Linked DNA regions of Homo sapiens: regions 1, 2, 3 and 4 are each linked to region 5. Evidence: promoter capture Hi-C in human tissues and cell types (Jung and others, 2019). All regions are on one chromosome and are shown on one strand. The core of a region is centred on a gene start or on the middle of the fragment in contact, and the rest is flanking DNA. Distances in the headings are between cores, read along the strand shown.

Region 1 (2,912 bases), core at 413-2,912, 820 kb after region 5:
ATAAACATTAGAATACCTTTTTTTCCACTTGAATGTTGAATTGACACAGCACAATTTATCTGAAAGATTATCCTTTTCCCTACTGCATTGCAGGATCACCTTTATCATAAATCATGCCACCATATATGTGCAGGTCTACTTCTGGATTCCCTGTTGTGTTTCATTGGACAGTTATCTGTTCTTGCACTAGTACCACACAGTTTTGATTGTCATAACTTTATAATAATAGTTTCTGATATCTCACAGTGTAAGTCCTGTATATTTATTCTTCAAGAATAACTTGATGATTTCCAACTTTTACATTTGATATGAATTTTAGGAAAACTTGTCAATTTCTGGAAAAAGAAGAACCTGTAGCTTAGATTTTGACCAAAATTGCATAGATGAATGTATTAATTTGGAGAGAACTAACATCTTTACAATATTGAGTCTTCCAATTATAATGATGCATATACTTCCATTTATTTAGCTCTCCTTTAATTTTTCTCAATAATATTTTAGTTTTCAGTTAGAGATCTTGCACATCTTTAATTAGATTTATTTCTAGGTGTTTGAGTTTTTTGATGCTATTGTAAATATGTTTTATTTTCTATTTGTTTATTGCCAATATATACAAATGCAACTAGTTTTTATATGTTGACTGTATATCCGGTTCCCTTCCTATATTCTCTTATTAATTCTAAGAATTTGTCCTTAGATTCTCTAGAAATTTTGAATGTGCATGATCTTATTGTCTGGAAATGACAATTTTATTTCTTGCTTTCCAATCTCCATGACATTTATTTCTTTCTCTGACCTTTTGCATTGGCTAGACCTCCTTCTACAATGTTAGACTGAAATGATGACAGTGGTCATTCTTGACCCAGTTCCAGTCTTAGGGGGAAGTTTTCAACATACTACCATTGAGAATGATGTTTGCTACGGATATTTTGTAGATATTCTTTATGAGATTAAGAAAGTTCTGTTCTTAATTGATTACGTGTTTTCATCACAAATGGATGTTGAATTTATCAAATGCTTTTTCTGCATTTGAGATGATTGTATGATTTTACTCCTTTTTCTGTTAATGTGGTGAATTATGTTTATGATTTTTGAATGGTAAGCCACACTTGTACACTTGGACTGAACTTGCACTCCATTTACTGTATCAATGGATTTGGCTTCCTAATATTTTGTTAAGAATTTTTAAGTAATGTTTATGAGAAAGATGGGCTTGCAGTTTTCTTTCTCACAATCTTGTCAGGGTTTAAAAATCAAGTTTATGCTATTACAATTTTTTTTAAGTCTGGAAAGCTCACCTTCTCTTTCTGTGTTCTGGAAGAATTATACAAGACAGCTGTTAATTTTTCCTTAAGTGTTTGGAAGAATTCACTGATAAACTATCTGAGCCCAGGCTTTTCTTTTTTAAAATAATGGGCTTAATTTTAAAAAAAAATACATCCTAAATTATTGATATTTTCATCTCTTCTCCTGTCAGTCTTGGTAAATTGTATTTTCAAAGAGTTTGTTTATTTCATCCAAATTGTCAAATTTATCAGCATAAATTTGTTTTAAGTTTCCTTTTATTGTCCTTTTGATGCTTGTATGATCTATAGTGATATCTCCTTTTTCATTGCTGTTGTTGCGAATTTGTTTTGTCTATTTTTTTTTCTTTTGATCAGTCTTCTTTAGATTTTGATGTTTTTAAACAACTGACTTTGGCTTTATTGTCTTTCTTATATGTTCCTTGGTTTTTGCTTTTATCTTTATCATTTCTTTTTGTAAGTTTGATTCCTGCTCTCTCTCTACTTTCTTGAAATTAACACTTAAATCATTGATTTTCAGGCTTTTTCCTTTCTAATATGGAATATAAGACTATATATTTCCTTCTAAGCACCATTTTAGTTTTTTCACATGATTTTTCAAATGTGATTTTTATTATTTAAGTTTAAGAACTAATTTCTGTTTTTTTTCTTTATCCCATGGATTATTTAGAGTATATTGTTTAATTTTGAGCACTTGGGTTTTTCCTGTTGTTGTTATTGATCTTTAGCTTAACTTCCACTGTGGTCAGAGAAGACATTCTGAAAGATGTCAATATTTTGAAATTGTTGAGACTTTTTTCTTGTTATGATATATTGATTGTAATAAATGTTCTTATGTTCTTTGTATACTTGAAGTGAATATGAAGTGGTCATTAGGTACCATTTTGCATACATGACATTAGATTACATATGTTAACTGTGCTGTTTATATCTTCTATATCCTTACTGATTTTTTTATTTTTCACTTTTTCTGCTATGTGTTTGAAAGAGATGCACTAATGCCTCCCACTGTGAGTGCTGATTTGTACATTTTTTTCTCATTGTTCTGTCCATTTTTGTTTAGTTTATTTTGAAGCTATATTATTAGGTGCACAGAGATTTAGGATTGTGCTCATTTCCTATTGGACTTATTTATTTATAATTATGAACTGTCTCACTTTATCTCTAATAATGTTTCTTGCCTTACAGTTCACATTGTCTGATATTAGTATAGCTAGACAGCTTTAGGAGCAGGGGCAGGTTTGTGTTTGCATGGTATATTTGGCTTTCCTTTCACATTAAACATTTCTTTTTATTAGATTTGAAGATTTGGGTTTGTTTTTTATCTAATCTGACAGTATTTTACTTCAAATTTAGCTTATTTACATTCAGTGTAATCACTGACATCATTGGGCTTATAGCTACCATCTTATTTTTCATTTTCTATTGTGCTCTTTTCTTTTATATTCCTTTTGTTGTCATTTTATGTTCTTTTTTTCGCCCTCTCTTTCCTCTATTTTTTTAATTATTCAAGGATTTCATTCTAAAAACTTGCAAGTTTTACTTCTTTAATTCTAATAGTAACTATCCTAGAGATTGCAATATATATCCTTGATTTATTACAGAATT
Region 2 (2,873 bases), core at 271-2,770, 550 kb before region 5:
AAATGTTACCTAAGTTGTAGCCTTAAAAGACTCATTTCAAGTGTCTTACTTGGTTATTAAGTATCGCACACTGGCAAATAATATGTAAGAATAAGTGACAAGAAAGTTCATGCAGATTCTTTATTTAAATCCAATTTTAGTTTTTTAAAAATAGAGAGAAGGTCTTGCTATGTTGCTCAGGCTGGTCTCGAACTCCTGGTCTCAAGGGACGCTCCTGCCTCGGCCTCTCAAAGTGCTGAGATTATAGGCATGAGTGGCCCCACCCTACCTCATGCAGATTCTAATTTAAGATAAAATATCACCTGAGAAGTCCCAGACCCTATATTTGAACTCAGTTTTCCGATTACCCTAAAGAAGGGCCTTTTAGCCTACTCTAATTCTATTTTTATTTTGCTGATTTTCCATCACTTTTACTAATCAATGATTTCTGTTGAAACTTTTATATACTACTCCTTAAATTAGAAACAATTCAGATAAATGTATGGTTTTATGCATATTTGCTTAGCAACTAACTTGATTCTGAAAATTGGATTTTTTTAGCAAGACAGAAAGAATGTTTAGTAGAAAAAGCACTGATTTGGGAGCCAGGAGGCTTAAAGTCTTTATTACACTTTAAGAATGAGCTAAATGTATAACTTAAATCAAGTGCATTGGCTTAATTATTGGAACCTGAGTAAAGCATATGTTTTCTCTCAAATACGCCCTTTCCCTTCAGTTCAGTAGGGAGTGGGCTAAAAAGGAAAATCTGAATGCTAACATATATGTAAAACATGATGGGAAACTACCCTCTCCCACCAAAACAATGCATGGAGTCGTGGGTTTTAAATAACAGTAATTATTCATATGAGACTCTACACCAAAAAGGGCACAGAAGTAATTCATGTATTACTAATACCCATTGAACAACTGGAATATGCACAGATTAGGGCAAAACTAGCATTTTTTTTTTTAAAGGTTATGCTACACTGCAGTCTGAAGTAGTATCCTTAAAGTTCAAATTACACATTGGGCCCACAGATAATACACAAAAACTGATTTGGGATAAATTAGCACAATGTATGATCTCTACAAAAGCAAGTTCTGGGCCAACACCTACATACACTCGCTAGAAACTGCAGCAAATACAGGCAGAGCAAGTAAGCACAAAGGAGAACAGGAAGATGGCAGTGTAACCTGGCTACACCATTGCAAACATTCTGATGAATGCCATCCATGAACACAAGCACACACTACTACTCACAAAACGGTAATACATTCATATACATCCCCAGGCATTCCCAATTAGTGAATAATTATATTTGAAGCCTACTTTAAATTAATATGGGCTGACCATGGTGACTCACGCCTGTAATCCCAGCACTTTAGAAGGCCAAGATGGGCCAATGGCTTGGGCATGCAGATTGCTTGAGCTCAGGAGTTTAAGACCAGCCTGGGCAGCATAGCAAGACCCCTGTCTCTATAAAAAAATACAAAAATTAGCCAGGTGTGGTATGGTGCGTGCACCTGTAGTCCTAGCTATTCAGGAGGTGGAGGTGCGAGTGTTGCTTGAGCCTAGGGTGCAGAGGTTGCGAGCCGAGACTGCGCTACTGCACCCCAGCCTGGGCAACAGAGTGAGACTCCGCCTCAAAAATAAATAAATAAATACATCAACTAATGTAATCCCCCATCCATCCATTTTCAATACATGGCAAACCAAAAAAACAGTTACATGCATTTAATCTAAAATTTTCTGTAAGAATATATTGTATGTAGTTCTTTAGAAATAGATTTTTGCTTATTTGCCATAATTTTTTTAATTTGATGAACTGAAGTGGTATTCCTTAACTACAATTTCAAAATGTTTTTCCCTACAGGCCAACAACCCACAAAATAAAATGCTGCACCTGAAGCAATCCTCCAAACTTACTATCTGTCATTAGCAAATAGAGCTTTAACCTTTTGGGCATCACAGGGTCTTTAAGATGCCCGTGCCTGCTGAGAACTTCTCCCTAGAAAAATGCAGTAAACACATTCCGTTTCATAGGGCTCCTGGACTTGTTGAACACTATACATAGGCCACAAGTAGAATATATTGTCCAGCTGGGAATATACTATTATTTCAAAAGTCTCTTAGGAATTGGCAGCAAGAAGTGTATGTGCAATGGGTACAAATCCACCCAGGGTTTTGTAGTTGTGATATTACTACTATTTTTGGTGGCCTCAACTTTAATGGAGCAGAAAAACAACTGAGGTTAGCAAATAGCAGCGTAAAGGATGGATTCAGCTCACTGGGAAGAAAAAAAATTCCTGCATACCCTAAAGAAACAGAAGCTTCTTTTCAGTTTCCAGAGAACCAGAAGGACCATCATTTATTTAACTTCTGATTAACTTTGAGTATGATAAGTAGGAAATATCTTTAAATGGGGTTAAAATTAATAGACATTAGAAACAGAAACTACACTCTTATTTAAGCTATCAGTAATCATTAATGGCTAAATGTTATGAGTATTGTTAATAAGAGGGAAATTCAGTTATAAAAATATAGCACAATACTCTAAAAATTTCATCTTTGTTTAAAATACTTGGAGGCAGTGTAGTTAAATGCAAAATATTATGTCAGTTATTTTGTACACCTGAAGGACTGTTTATAAATGTTTCTCATACATTATCATGCAAAGATTATTCTAGAATACTTGAGTTCTACATACTACAAATCATGTTAAAGAATCATAGCACCTTTAAAAAATTGTTTACACTGAACTGTTGGATAGAATTTCCCTTAATGTATAGCAATAAGCTTCAACAATTTACAGTGGCTCAGGTTGAATATCTATTTCGATGCTATATATGAAGAGTTTGATATGTTTTCAGAGAAAAGCAAAAGCTAAATAACT
Region 3 (2,771 bases), core at 115-2,614, 520 kb before region 5:
AATAAGGATACTTTTCCAGGTAGGCCTGCGTGGGGATAATTGACTTGCCTAAGATTATTACTACTGAATGATGGAAGGGAAAAGTAGAAACCAAATCAGATCTGCATTTATTACACTAACCACTCCATTCTGTTTTAAAAGGAATAATTTTAGAAGACTATCAGAGATTTCTTTGCTATATAAAACGGGGCCTTTATTTATTATTATTATTTTTGAGACAAAGTCTCACTATGTCACCCAGGCTAGAATGCAGTGGCGCAATCTCGGCTCACTGCAACCTCCACCTCCTGGGTTCAAGTGATTCTCATGTTTCAGTCTCCTGAGTAGGTGGGACTACAGGCACACAACAACATGCCTGGCTAATTTTTTTGTACGTTTAGTAGAGACAGGGTTTCGTCATTTGGCCAGGCTGTTCTCGAACTCCTGGCCTCAAGTGATCTGCCCGCCTTGGCCTCCCAAAGTGCTGGGATTACAGGCATGAGCCACTGCGCCTGGCCTGGTTTTATGTTAAGATGATTCTGCTGACTTATACTAAGAGAGAAAAAACACTTTTTACTGCAAATATTCTTTATATTAAATATTTTACTCGTAAAAACCTAAACTTACATATTTGATAAAGCTTATATATTTGATAGTTGTTTTTTTTTTTAAATAACCAAGGATACTCATTTAAAGGTTAGTCTAGTACATAATTTTTTAGATGGAGACCTCTACTGGAAGTATGAAGTAATAGATAGATTCTGGTTTGATTTTTTTTTTTTTTTCCTTTGGAGACAGGATCTTGCTCTGCCACCCAGGCTGGAGAATGAAGAGTAGTGGTGCAATCATGGTTCACTGCAGCCTCAACCTTCTTGGCTTAAGAGATCCTCCTACTTCAGCCTCCCTAGTAACTAGGACTACAGGTGTGTGCCACCATACCTGGCTGATGTGTAAAGATTTTGTAGAGACCAGGGCTTTCTGTGTTGCCCAGGATGGTTTCCAACTCCTGGCCTCAAGTGATCCTCCTGGCTTGGCCTCCCAAAGTGTTGGGATTGCAGACCTGAGCCACCCACCCAGCCTGATTCTATTACTGTAAATATCTAGACAAAGGGATGGTAGGGAGATATGTTTTAAAAACAGTCAATGTAACATATGCTAAAGTTTTTTTTTTAAGTATTTTTCTTATGAAACTTTAATAGTATACTTTTGGTTTATGATACCATGTTGAATCTTTTAAAAAGCAGACTATTAAGTTTATATTTTTTTAGCTAACATTTATTTAATTTGCCATGTGCCGGGCACTGCACCAAGTGGTAACTCATTTTCTCTTCACACCTCCCTATGACATAGATACTGTTAATATCCTGGTATTATAGATGAGAAAACAGGACAAAGGTGTTTAAGAACCTTGCCCAGGTTCACACAGTAAGTTCTGGATCTAGTATTTTTTTTTTGAGACGGAGTCTCGCTCTGTCACCCAGGCTGGAGTGCAGTGGCGCGATCGAGGCTCACTGCAAGCTCCGCCTTCCGGGTTCACGCCATTCTCCTGCCTCAGCCTCCCGAGTAGCTGGGACTACAGGCGCTCGCCACCATGCCCAGCTAATTTTTCTTTGTATTTTAGGTAGAGATGGGGTTTCACCGTGTTAGCCAGGATGTTCTCGAACTCCTGACCTTGTGATCCGCCCGCCTCAGCCTCCCAAAGTGTTGGGATTACAGGCGTGAGCCACCGTGCCCGGCTGGACCTAGTATTTAAACCTGGAATCTAGGCATATTATACTGTCTTCCCCCAATTCACATGAATATAATTTTATTAAAAAGTATTTGAAGATAAGGACTTCAAGGGAATAAAAATATGAAAATGGTTAGGGTAGTTGTGGGATTGTGGCTTTTTATTTTTATTTAAAAAATTCTTTAATGTATCTTTTTGTAATAACGTGTGTGTTGCTGTACAGTTTATAGTTTATTTTTACAAATATTTATCTCAGTGGATTTTTGCAACAACTCTAGGAAATAGGTATTATCCTCTTGTAGATCAGGGAAAAAGCCTGTAAGTACCATTGCTAGTGCAGAATTAGAGTTTAGTTTTGTGAGTTATAGTGTACTGCTCCTAGTTTACTATCAGAGTCTTGGGGTCAAGGATTTTTTTTTTTTAATGGCAATGCACTTTTTGGCATCTGATACATTGTAGCTGAACTGAATTAGGATCTCCTGTCACTTGGGGAGCTTCTTATGAACTCAGGTGGGTATGGTAGGCCTCTCAGCAAGTGGGAAATCTAATTTGGGAAATTCTGAAAGAATTGAAAATTTCTAACTTACAGAATTAATAGTATAGCATTTCATTCGTCTGTCCCTAAAGCTTAACATTTTTTTGTGTGGTTTTATTAAACAAGCATCAAGAGTCAGTTGTAGTTGTAGAATATTAATTAACATTGTGGTAAATGTGTCATTTTGTGCAATTCTATGCAGTACTTGAAGTTGTTTTTAAGTAAAATAGACACTAATGTCTCCCTATCTGTCTTCACAAGCTACAATATGAGACTAGAGAGTCTTGTGTAGGGTAAGATTTGAGAGAGTAATACAGACATGCCTGAGAGATGCTGTGGGTTTGATTCCAGACCACCACATTAATATATATGATAGTAAAATGAGAGTGAATTTTTTGGTTTCCCAGTGCACAGACAAGTTATGTTTATATTATACTGTAGTATATTAATTGTTCAGTAGCATTATGTCTCAAATAACAATGTACGGCCAGGTGTGGTGGCTCAACGCCTGTAGGCCCAGCACTTTGT
Region 4 (2,700 bases), core at 84-2,583, 620 kb after region 5:
CTGGGGCAGATACACCACTAATGAGGAGGTCCTACTCTGATGAATGCATATGCGGTGAGACCTGAGCCCTGGACAGGTTGGGGTTGCCGTTGGATCTAGCTTGCTGCTTCAGATGATGCTTTGAGGCTGCCTTATTCCCTGTTCACCTCTCTCTGGACAAAAGGGCAGGAGTGAAGATTTAGCATCAGTCAAGCCTTGTTGCAAGAAGATGCTCTAATCCTACAGTTGTCCCAGCCACAGCCATGTCAAGGGAGACTGTGGATTCTGAGAATATACTACCTTAGAGTTAAAAAGGAGGTTAGGTAGGGGAGATGGTAGCTGCTTGGTCTTCTTTCTAAGTTTTCTTTATTGTTCACTGTTCCCTTTCAGTAGGCCCTTCTTCCTTTTGTAAGGGCCTGGTACAGAGAGCTCAAGTTGATCTGACAGTGTGAGTGGATTGCAATGGTCATGTTTAATACCTCTCAGCTAATGAAGAAGATATACAGATCAACTTGTGCAAAAATTAAAGGAAATAACTAGTGACATTTGTGAAGATATTTTTCTGCTTACAATATTATAGAAGCTGTATAAATGATTCTACTAATTTTTTAGAGTCTATTCCATAAACCAGAAACTATCCAGTAAGCTAGAGATAAGCAGGACTCATAAAGAGCGTACCTTTTTAAACAGGAATGATTAGTTTCACAGAAAGAAAAATAAAAATGTATTTGTTCAATTCATACATTCAACAGACATTTAAAATGATCAACATTTGACTTTTCTGAATGGTCCAAAAGAGAATGTTGAATTGAATAACCCCTTCTGTGTGTTCCCCAGGCTTTGTGGATTTCTACAATGCTGTGAGCAATTGCACATCCCAGTCAAAGCCAAGGAGACAAAACCACTGTGTGGTGAGGGCTAATGATTTGCCATAGGACTTTAGATGTGGTTTTCTGGTCTATCTGGGCTCGATTCCCTCATCTCTAAGAGAGGGTAAACATTTCTCACCAAGGGTTTTGAGAAACAATTGATGAGCTAATTGTACAAAACTTTGCTAAAATACGATGCCACACAAGGGCTCAATAATAAAGGCCACTTTATAGTTACAGAATGTTTTGAAGGTTGATCAGAGAGGGTGTGGATGATGTCAGTTTGGGAGCTAATATTTTCTTTAGATTTTGTTTTCTTTTCTTGTGGTGCTGTGAGGAGGGCTGCACATCTCCAGAGTTAGTCACTTAGGTCTGGGCTTCCTGTGTGTTGGGCATTTTGACAGCAATGGAATGATGGAAATGAATAGTTATTGACTTCAAGGAGCTTAGAGAATGGGGGAGGCAGAAAAATGGGCACTTGCAATTGCCTGCAGCAAATGCTTCCAGAGTGTAGATGTCAGTGCTATGGAATACACAGGAGAACCATAGCAAAGCAGCTAAATCTGAAAGAATCTGTACAGGGAGAAATGGATAGAAGAAAATGGTCCCAGGATTGAAGAGAGATGTTCCCATCTGGCTGAAGTGCAGAGGGCACAAGGAGGAGCAGCAGCTGTAGTGGAAGGCTCATCCATGTTATGGATTTCTACCTAAGCTTTTCCTAAGGGCAGGGGGAAACCATTGAAAAGTTTGAGATAGGAAAGCAACATAATTAGATTTGTGTTTTAAAAGACCACTCTATAAAGGTGTTCTAAAAGCTCATGGTGTTATTTACATTATATTTACACTGAAAAGTCACTATGAATAATTTTGTTAATAAAAGAAAAAACTTGACAAATAGGATTTTGCTCTGTGAAAGTTCATGTGCAGGGGATGAAAAGACAAGCTATGGAGTGTGAGAAAATATTTGCAAACCTCATACCCAACAAAGGATCAGTATGTGGAATATATAATAAACTCTCAAAACTTAACAGTAAAAACAACAAAAAAAATTCAATTAGAAAATGGACAAAAGATGTGAACAGCTATTTCACAGAGGAGGATTATAGATGGCAAATATGCACATGAAAAGATGTTCAATATCTTTATCCGTCAAGGAAACATAAATTAAGCCCACAAGGAGATATCACTACATACCTATCAGAATGGCTAAAAGAGTAACAACACCAAATGCTGGTAAGGACATGGAGAAACTGGATCATCCATACTTTACTGTGGAATGTAAATGGTAGAGCTACTCTGAAAAACAGCTTGGTAGTTTCTTATAAAGCTAAATATGCAACTACATAACACTTAGTAATTGCATTCTTGGATATTTACCCCCAGAGAAATGAAAACATACATTCACACACCAAAAAAAAAAAAAACTGTACAGGAATGTTCACAGCAACATTATTTATAAGCCAAAAATCAAAATAAATCTAGATGCCCTTCAACAGGAATGGTTGAACAAACTGTGGTACATACCACAGAATACTTCTCCACAATAAAAAGGAGCAAACTATTGATGTACACAGCTTGGATCCATCTCTAGGGAATAATGCTGACTGAAAAAGCCAGTCCCAAAAGGTTGCATACTGTATGATTCCATTTATGTGACATTTTTGAAATGACAAAGTTCTTGAAATGAAAAACAGATTAGTTGTTGCCAGGAGTTAGGGATGAAGAAGGTGGGGGCTGTGCAGGAGGGAGGTAGGTATACTTGTAAGTGGACAAACCGAAGGATTCTTGCAGTATTGAAAGTTGACTGGTGGTGGGTATGTGAAACCACAGGTGATAAGCCTGTATAGCACTT
Region 5 (2,700 bases), core at 201-2,700:
CCCCATGCGCCAGGAGGTGGATAATTTAGGGGGCAAGGGGCTCGCACAAGGGCGAAGATGCGCTCTCCTCCCGGCACCGACCCACGCGTTTAAAGGCCTCTGCGGCAACGTTTAGGGACGCGAACTAGGTGCCGGGGGTTGGGGAGGAGGTGGGACTGGAAGCGAGAGCAGTCTGCGCCCAAGACCGCGCAAGAGGTGGCCTTTTGTTCGCTGGCTCCAGCACATCCCGGCTCTCGAAAAAACACTACCTCTGTCCCCTGCCACCCTCTGCATTTTAGAAAATCCTCTTCAGGGCAGGAAAGGACAGTGAGTCACTGCAAGCATCCTTTAGTAATTTCTCCCCGCGCCCTCCTACTTCCCCGCGTTACAGAGGGGCAGAGCACCAGGAAGGACGGCAAACATGCCCCGGTTTAGTGGTGGTCCGCGGCCGCTACCCAGCCGGCCGCACGCAGCACCCCCCGGACATCACACGATCTCCTCTGGGCCTTGCGGACACAGGAAATTTTCACCAAAGGCCGGGGATTCAAACACTCCCAGAACACGGTCGCGCCCTCGGGTCAGCTGCGCTCTCCCTCCAGACGTGCGTGGTTCCTGGCTCTCGTAAAAATGGAACCAGATCTGGTACCACACTCTGCCACAGCCACAGGAAAACACACCAAAGTCACAGGAAAACAAACCAAAAAGTAAGCCACAGCCCACGCAAAGGTGAACTCGGGGGCCCTGGCGCTTCCTCCCGCTGCCGCGTGCGTTCGGGAAGCACAGGAGACCTGGACTTTTCCTCTCCTAAAAGCAACATCCGAAAGCATCGGGCACAGCCGAGCTCTCTCTGCTTTCACGCCCGCAGAGATGATTTCTACGTTACCTCCTCCTCCGACATCTAAATCTCCCCTTGCCGCTCGCCCAGCCCTCCCCGGGAACGGATAATCACCTTACCTCCGGAAATAAAGGGAAAGGTGGCAAAAGGCGATGTGGAGGTGTCCGCCCTTCCGGGGTTTTTACCCTCGGCAGTTTGATGTCCTTTGTGTCAAGGTCTGGCTGCGGAGGCCGGGAAAATGTGGCCCCCGTCAGTAAGGGTTGGGCAGGGAGCTTGGCGTGGCCTGGCGGATTTCGGAGGAAGGTGAAGGGCGGAGGCTCCTGGCGACCTTCTGGCGGAGTGGCGTGGCCGCCCCAGTCCGCGCTCGCCTGGCTCTCCTCCTTTCCGGGCCGATTGCATCAGAATCTCCCCTCACCACCAACCCCCACTCACACTCTGCTCGCCGGCCTCGCACTTACATCGACATGCACCGGCGCTGAGGGTCACGAATCGGAGTCATTCTCCTACTGGGGGACGCGTGGCCCTTCCGCAACCATGGCTTGTGATGGTTTAACGCGGACAGGCCATTCCTCCCCGTCCCGCGCGCGGTCTCCTCCCCTCCTGTGCGCCCGCTCTTTAACCAAAGCTGCGTGTCAGTGAGCCGTGCCGGTCACATGGTGTCACTGCTGGCGGCCGCACCTTGCTGCCTCCCTCTTGCAGCTCTCTGACGATGCAGCGACCGCGGCTGGCGGAGATTGAGCAACGGGGAAAGGGTGAGGGAGGGGTTGCGGGGCGCGCGTGTGCCCGGCGCACTGAAGCTGGCACCGGGAGCAGAGGCTGCGCGCCGCCCTGGCACCTGCCCCTCTCCCTCCCGGGGCCCGGCGGCGTGTTCGGAACCCAGCTGCGGCTGCAGCTGGAGAATGAGAGCCCTTAGGGATGGGGGTGGGGCGGCTAAAGGGGCACCGGCGGAGGACAGGAGGGCTGTGCGTTCCGCTGGGGCCTGCATTTTGGGTACGCCAGAGCCCCGCCGGGGCCGAAGGAGCGAGGGAGTTGCATTGTGGGAAGGGCGCAGCATGAGGATGGCCGCGGGAGTGGCAGGTCCGAGCGCAGCCCGGAGAGCCGCGGGCAGCGCCTGGGACTACGGGCAGCGTTGGAGCGGAGGGCTGGCCCTGGGCACAGCCTGCAGATGGCCCGGGTTGGCGGGAAGGGGACCGAAGTGGCAGGGGCGGCGGGGAGCTCGGGCACCTTTAAAAACCCTTTGTCCCTAACCTGAAGCGGGAGGCACCTCCCCTCTTCCGGATCCAGCACCCGCAGACCTGGTCAGCCCTTCCTGAGATCTGCCCTGTGGAGCTCTGCTTTGGGGACTGGGTGTGAGGTGAACCAGAAGGATTTGCTGAGCACCGAGAAAGCACCGGCCTAGGCGCAAAGAGCCGGGGGCCAGCTCTTGGAGGGCCTGGAGACCCCACGTGGTCCCGACCGAAGGACCTGGTGCGTCCAGGTTAACGGAGCTGGGGCGCTCCAAGTCCGGGGGACGAGGGAGCGGCATGGAGGGGAGCAGGGGCAACTGGGCCTGGTTCCCTTTTTTCCCGCTTACTCTTTGTTTCAGACACAGCCCCCTTTCACTGGCTGGGCACTTGCTTGCAGAGGAGTTGTGTCTTAAAATGGCGACAGGAAATCCCACCTGCGCCTCAGCCAATTAGACTGTCATAGCGCGAATTTGCAGGGTGGAAACGCGAGCTTTTTATTGATAGGGAAGGTTCAGTCTCCTGTTCATGGTTCATCAAAACAGGAAAGGGAAGGTGAATCATAATTCAAAAATTAACTACCTGGAGCGTTTCAAGTAGACAGTAGTCATTGTATTTGGGTGAATTTTGCTTTTTCATCACCACTGGAAAAGCAAGATGATA

The links. Contacts are between HindIII fragments. The study calls those that stand out against the background at their distance.
Region 1: a fragment that was not itself captured here is called in contact with the fragment with the promoter of SLC38A1 in region 5 in 1 of the 25 tissues and cell types used here (IMR-90 fibroblasts).
Region 2: a contact is called between a fragment that was not itself captured here and the fragment with the promoter of SLC38A1 in region 5, in 1 of the 25 tissues and cell types used here (lymphoblastoid cells).
Region 3: a contact is called between a fragment that was not itself captured here and the fragment with the promoter of SLC38A1 in region 5, in 1 of the 25 tissues and cell types used here (hippocampus).
Region 4: a fragment that was not itself captured here is called in contact with the fragment with the promoter of SLC38A1 in region 5 in 1 of the 25 tissues and cell types used here (mesenchymal stem cells).

What each region holds. Positions count from the first base shown.
Region 1 is chr12:47,091,728-47,094,639 of GRCh38, forward strand. All of the region lies in intron 1 of PCED1B (PC-esterase domain containing 1B), which reads left to right. Among named protein-coding and RNA genes, the nearest start is that of AMIGO2, 13 kb to the left of the region's middle. The HindIII fragment of the contact is 8,493 bases long and covers 1-2,912 here.
Region 2 is chr12:45,720,702-45,723,574 of GRCh38, forward strand. No RefSeq gene overlaps it. Among named protein-coding and RNA genes, the nearest start is that of LINC00938, 5.8 kb to the right of the region's middle. The HindIII fragment of the contact is 3,962 bases long and covers 1-2,873 here.
Region 3 is chr12:45,745,352-45,748,122 of GRCh38, forward strand. The region is part of intron 3 of ARID2 (AT-rich interaction domain 2); the gene reads left to right. Among named protein-coding and RNA genes, the nearest start is that of ARID2, 17 kb to the left of the region's middle. The HindIII fragment of the contact is 3,797 bases long and covers 1-2,771 here.
Region 4 is chr12:46,885,722-46,888,421 of GRCh38, forward strand. No RefSeq gene overlaps it. Among named protein-coding and RNA genes, the nearest start is that of SLC38A4, 61 kb to the left of the region's middle. The HindIII fragment of the contact is 6,813 bases long and covers 1-2,700 here.
Region 5 is chr12:46,267,593-46,270,292 of GRCh38, forward strand. It overlaps SLC38A1 (solute carrier family 38 member 1), which reads right to left and starts at 1,451. Exons shown (of 17, transcript NM_030674.4): 1 at 934-1,451. LOC105378248 (a long non-coding RNA gene) reads left to right here and starts at 1,479. Exons shown (of 2, transcript XR_001749101.1): 1 at 1,479-1,566. RefSeq lists enhancers at 851-910, 909-1,891, 1,031-1,080, 1,131-1,230 and silencers at 1,641-1,820, 1,901-2,000. The HindIII fragment of the contact is 6,474 bases long and covers 1-2,700 here.